2 separate regions of the Homo sapiens genome follow, and region 2 is linked to region 1. Evidence: promoter capture Hi-C in 16 types of primary human blood cells and fetal thymus (Javierre and others, 2016). All regions are on one chromosome and are shown on one strand. Each heading gives the region's core, a stretch centred on a gene start or on the middle of the fragment in contact. The rest is flanking DNA. Distances are from core to core; before and after follow the strand shown.

The links. Contacts are between HindIII fragments. The CHiCAGO score rates a contact against its expected background, and 5 or more counts as called.
Region 2: a fragment that was not itself captured here is called in contact with the fragment with the promoter of PDGFRL in region 1 in 3 of 17 cell types (naive CD8 T cells, fetal thymus and activated CD4 T cells); the score reaches 5.9 in naive CD8 T cells.

What each region holds. Positions count from the first base shown.
Region 1 is chr8:17,575,653-17,578,735 of GRCh38, reverse strand. It overlaps PDGFRL (platelet derived growth factor receptor like), which reads right to left and starts at 1,520. Exons shown (of 6, transcript NM_001372073.1): 1 at 1,429-1,520. The coding sequence starts at 1,483. RefSeq lists silencers at 1,115-1,164, 1,255-1,314. The HindIII fragment of the contact is 7,010 bases long and covers 1-3,083 here.
Region 2 is chr8:17,711,877-17,714,959 of GRCh38, reverse strand. MTUS1 (microtubule associated scaffold protein 1) reads left to right here. Exons shown (of 15, transcript NM_001363059.2): 6 at 1,708-1,746. Among named protein-coding and RNA genes, the nearest start is that of MIR548V, 32 kb to the right of the region's middle. The HindIII fragment of the contact is 2,798 bases long and covers 95-2,892 here.

The DNA of each region.
Region 1 (3,083 bases), core at 271-2,770:
CTGGGTGAGATCCAGGAGGCAGAATGGAAGTCAATTTCTGAGCCTCTAAGACTGGCAAGTTGGGTATAAACAAAGGAATGGCTGATTTGAAATTATTTTGCCTGGCCATCTCCTGCCCTATTCAAAAAATGATACTACAAATTACATTTCTGCCTTTTCAGCGGTTGCACACAAGGGCCTGCCAGGAGCATTTTAATATTGCATTTTACAAACTGAACTCATGGCAACTTCTCTCTGGGCAGAGTTAAGTGTTACTCTCCCAGTAGAAGCTCTGCCTACGTTTTATTAAGCAAAGCTCTAGGCTGAAGGACCCTCATGCTCAACTTCAAGTACCACGACTATCTTGGATTTTGCAAACTACAATGCGGTATTTTTTTGGCAAATGTAGTTTCCTAGGAAAGAAAGGAACTGGTCAGGATGAACGAGTGGATAAAAATGTGAGCCAGGTCGAGCTGGCTCCAGCATGAAGTTGCATAACAGCAAAAGCTACTTTTCCACTAAATCTAAGCAAAAATTGTGTTGTAGCCCAGGAATTTCAAGAGAGGGTTGAGGACACCAGGAGGCACCCAGATGAAACATGTACTGTACAAATAACACCCATGGAGTGAATAGAGCAAACAAAACATTTAAATGCTAACAATAATATATAATACACACCACAGTAATACACACACCCAGACACACAGAAAAATAACACCAGACCCTGTGGTCACGGGTGTACACGACAGGGTGGACCCAGGACAGGTACACATTCAAAAACGCGCAGCGGTCATGGTCCCATAAGCTGTACCAAAAAAATGCATTTTCTTCACCATTTCCCATCCAATTAGATAAATATAATAAGCCGTGGGCTTTTGATTCGTTTTGAAGTTTCATACACTGACATTTTTGTTCGAAGATCTAGGCAGATCTTGCAGGATTCAAGCAAAAGGTGGTAGACGAAAACACGCCCAGAACTGCGAGGGGAGGGGGAGGTCACCTGGAACTCTGCAACCGAATCAGCGATTGCCGAGCTTAGGTGGCACTCGCTCTCAGCAGCAGAGGTCCCAGCCACGCCGCTGGGAGGTGGAAGCGATCCGAGGCTCCCGCCCCACCTCCCAGACCGACACGTTGACACTGGGGGCTGGACCAGGCGCTGGCTGGGGATGCTTGGTTCGCCCGGAGATGGGGACTTGGAGAGGTCCTGGTGGGCTCCTAAGGGTCGGGGTAGCTGCCACCACCCCTAGAGGGCTCTCCGGGCAGGCAAAGAGTGGGAGGAAAGGAGACCCCACCAGGAGGGGGCAGGTGCACCGGGCAGGCAGTGGCGCGGGGGCTGAGCCACCGAGGGCCGAACGTTAGACCAAGAGCTGGCAGGAGGGCGGCGGGGGCTTCGGGTCCCGGCTAAAGTCAGGGCACAAGCTAGGTGGCCCCGCGCCCAGAGTCACTCACCATCCTCCAGCGCTTCGTGCACCAGCAGAAGACCAAGCAGCAGCCAGACCTTCATCTCGGGAACCTCGGACCTCGGAGCGCAGGAGCGCGGCGGCTGCGCGGGGCGGGGACGCAGGGGAGGCGGCGGGCGAGGGGCGGGCTCCTGGGACGCCGAAGCGGGAGGATTCGGTTTCTTCAGGAGGAACAAGGTTTGGGGGAAAAAGTTGGGGAATTTTTTTTTTTTTTAGTTCTCTGTGTAATGTGACTTCTCCTGCCCCCTGGCGGAGCCGCGGTGCGCAGCACTTCTTCCCAGCGCGGGGAGGAAAGGCTAAGCGTGAAATGTACATTACAACAGCCATTCCTTGAATTTCTCCAACGCTTGGCGTTTTCACCAAGGTTATCAAGTTCAAGAAGGATCAGCGGGTGCTGATGGGGTCACTTTTAACCACGATTGTCCAAATGTTACCAGCGCCCGCCCCACCTCCTCAGGCAGAACCTGAGTGCTCTGTAAAAAGTGCTTCCTAAATTATTTCTGTTCATTCCATTTCTCTCCCCCACATGCACTCACTCACAGGACCGTTGCCCCGGGTTCTTGCTGCTCCTCTGTGTCTGGCCAGAGTTGGTCTCCGCACCCAGCCCTGTAACTGCTGGTGGGGGTGGGAGGACGGGTTCATTACAGGAATAACGTGGAAAATGAGACTGTGCAGACAACCCGGGCCTCTGGTGGTGAGGCAGGAGAACAGGGAATTAGGGTAAGCACGGGCTAGGGTATGAGCAGGAGAACAGCAGGTGCAGCCAGTTCGCAGAAGCAAAAGATCAGCAGGTGCAGACAGTTCTAGGCATGATTAGGCGGCACACAGGCCACATCCTCGCTCCTCTGATAACAAGGCAGAAGTTTCCACTTCAGCCTCGGACTGGTCGCAGGCCAGTCCTTCGTAAGGTGTAACCAGTTGGAGGCCTCTAAAGGGAACCCAAGGGTGTTGCCAAGTTCTTTTCGCTTTATAAAATCCCTGGGGAGCGTCAGGCTCTTGTGGCTTGCTGCAGCGCCCTCTGTGAATTGTCTTCTATAAATCTACGTTTTCCTTCCTCCCTTCTGTTGCTTTGTTTTTCCTTGCTTCTTTCTTTCGTTACTCCGTGCATTTCGTTCAATTTTTTGTTCAACAGGCCAAGAACCTGGACAACTCTATCAGGTAACAGTGGGGCAGAAGATACGGGCTTTCACAAGTCCCTCTGCAGAGAGCCATCCTGCGTTTCTGAGCTTGCAGACTCTCATGATCAAAGCAGTTTGCTAGCGGGGGAGATGCCTGTGTGTGTTCCCCCGGTGAGAAGCAGCCCATCTCATTGTAATCTTCAGCACCAGGCACTGCTATTAAAGGGAGCTCAATTCTAAATAACAGGAAAGGGACTTGTCCCTCAACACCCAACGAAAGAAGTGCTGCCATTTATAACAAACTAATGCTTCTCAGTCACTTCTGCAGGAGGAACCAAGAATTCTATATTCTGTTGCCAGCTCTAGCCGGAGCTTTGCCACTCGCTTGCCTTGCGATGCAGAGAGCAGTTGGCTGGGAATAAAGACCAGAGTTCAGATGCTGACACTGGCACAAACTCTCCATGCCTCTCAGAATTCACTTAACCTTCTGGGTTTTAGCATCTCTTGTTTATTAAGAAAGGGAACT
Region 2 (3,083 bases), core at 244-2,743, 140 kb before region 1:
CACTCCCGCCTGGGTGACAGAGTGAGACTCTGTCTCAAAAAAAAAAAAAAAAAAAAAAAAAAAAAGCATTATTTGTGCTTAGTGAACTGAAGCTTAACTAAAGCCTGAGCGAATAATTGTGAGTGAGAAACTTGACCTATAAAATGAGACCCACATTTATGTTAGAGAATTTGGAAAACACAGAAACAAAGAGTCTTCCTTAATTCTGTCAACCAGCAATTGCTGTCACATTTCCTTGTGACTTTTTTCCTCTGTATGTATATGTTGTTTTGTTTTTATTCCAGCAAAACTGAGGTAATAATGAATATACTCTTCTGTATCTTGCTTTTTATTAAGTTAGTAGTGTATCAGGAGAGCTTCTTCACTTTAAATGGCTATTCTATGGTTGTCCACTTCAGTTTATAGTGGGCAACTTCTGACTTTTATTGGGGTTTATTAATACTGAGATGAACCTCTTCAAATGTGAGTCAAGATTCATTGTTTCAGATTCTGGTTACTTGTGGATATCCCAGAAGGAGGAATTACTGGGTTAACCTGCATGAAACTCTTTGGATTGTTAATATCTATTAGTAACTTTCTCAGAGGTGTTACTCTGTCACAGCATCCTCCTTAACATGTCTCTCTCTCTCTCTGTGTGTGTGTTTAAAGGATAATATGGTACCTTGAGGCTGGTTAATGTATGTCAATACCTTTTCTTTGTACTGAATTGAAGAGAAAATAGGCATGAATTTTAGGAGTGGGTTGAATTCTTCAGTGTGCAGCAGGTTGTCATTTGCCTAGGGAGTTAATCAAATTTCGGAGGCACCAAATGACCTCTTGCTGAGTTGACATCAGGTTGGAAAACTGTGGTTTTTTATTGATGATGATAAAGCCCCATGATCCACACAGCAATAATGAAGTTAACGCTGTTGAACTTTGATACTAAAATAACTTGCAGAGAATGAGATTCCATGGACAGCTTTGTAGAACAGGAGACTCAGAATTCTAAAATGCCTCACTATTGAATGGATAGGTTATGTCGCAACAGTTTTACCTGTGTGGGAATCAGTGCTTTCCATTGATAACAGCCACGTATTTTAAGAGATCATCATCTCTGTAAAATTTCAGATAGAACATGGTAGCTGTTCTAACTGGTATCTGCAGATGATTATGTCCTAGAAACAACTATTTCATGTTAAGTAGAAGCATCATAGATTTCTTTTAGTGACTTACAGCTGTGTACCTATTACCCCTCCTGATTTTATATTTTATCAGTTTGGAGGAAAAACTTCTATTTTTCTTCATAGCTGAATAGAAACGGGTAGTTTCGGAAAGCACACGGGAGTGACTGTCCTTCGTGAAGTCTGGCCTCTGCTCTCCCGGCAGCAGAATGGCATATGTGCACAGTCTGTGAATTCAGTACTGTTAAAACTTGAACTTCAGCTGTTCTTGACTGAAAAAATACTGCGGCTTTTCCTTTTAAAACTGGTCCTATTTAATTTGTGGTGACTTCATATCATACTTAAACATTTTGATGTTATGTGAAATATCACCTTATATTTAAAATGCACTTGACAAAAGTTGGTTGAATCTCGGTGATATTTCCCACCGGGAACCTGAAATGTAGCGATTGATTGTTTTTGAAAATAATTCTTATCAACATGGTTTGTTTTTATGTGATATGTCAAATAAAACATATGTATTTTACATGTTTCTTTTATATCTTAGGTCCTTCGAGAAAAAATTTATTTACAGCTCTTAATGCAGGTGAGTGACCACTTTATGGATGGCGATAAAAAGAATCTTTTTGTAAAGTTATGTTACTACAAGTATTTACAGTGATTTTTTACTGGTGTGCTTATAAGTAGAATTTCCAATTTGAGGTGTAAACCTAACTTTTTATGACGGGTCGCATAGCATTAAAATACGGTAAGCATGACTGGCCATCTAATGCATGAAAGGACATTGTATTACTAATAGATAGTTATAGTCTTTTAAAAAATGATTTTGTTAATGTGGTCTAAATGAAATGGAAAATGTACTTCCCCCAAGATCAATGCTATTTTGAAATTGGATATTCCTTAATTTTTAAGTGGTCTCAATATTTGGTTTTAGCACCTTTTCCCAGTTCAGCAGCCTATATTTTTATGTTTTTTTTTTCACACTTTCACTGGACTTAACATTCCCAAGATAGCCTGCAGCCTCCACTATTTGAACCACAGCTGAGAATCCAAAACTTTATGTCTCTCAAGAACCCATAAAAGATTTCACAAAATATCTTCACTGCGATTCCTATACTTTGGATGGATGGATGGATGGACAGACAGACAGACCGACAGATAGGCTGGGCCCAGTGGCTCACACCTGTAATCCCAGCACTTTGGGAGGCCAAGGTGGGTGGATCACTTGAGGTCAGGAGTTCAAGACCAGCCTGGCCAACATGGTGAAACCCCATCTCTACTAAAAATACAAAAAAGTTTGCCGGACGTGGTGGTACGCTCCTGGAGTCCCAGCCACTCAGGAGGCTGAGGCAGGATAATTGCTTGAACCTGGGAGGCAGAGGTGGCATTGAGCGTAGATTACACCACTGCACTCCAGCCTGGGTGACACAGTGAGACCCTGTCTCAAAAAAAAAAAGATAGATGGATTGATCTCTCTAGATAGATAAGGTCTCCTGTACACTGCCTACATTGTCTTATTTTATATACAGTGATAAAACAGTTATGTGCCTTCTAAATCCATGGCAGATTAGAAGAGCAAATCAGAAGAAACGAAGGTACAAGCATCGCTCATTTTCTGGAGCCTTGCAAATACTGTGCTTTTTGCAACTCTACCAGCATCATTTTTCCAACAGCAGTTGCTCACTTCATGTCTGTGTGTTACATTTTGGTAATTCTCACACTATTTCAAGCTTTTTCATTATTATTATATCTTTTACGGTGATCTGCGATCAGTGATCTTCCATGTTACTGTTGTGATTGTTTTGGGACACCATGGACCATGCTCATCTAAGACAGTGAACACAGCTGATACGTTTGCATTTCAAGTGCTCCACTGACTGGTCCCTCTTCCATCTCTCTCCCTTTTCTTGGTCTTCCTTATTC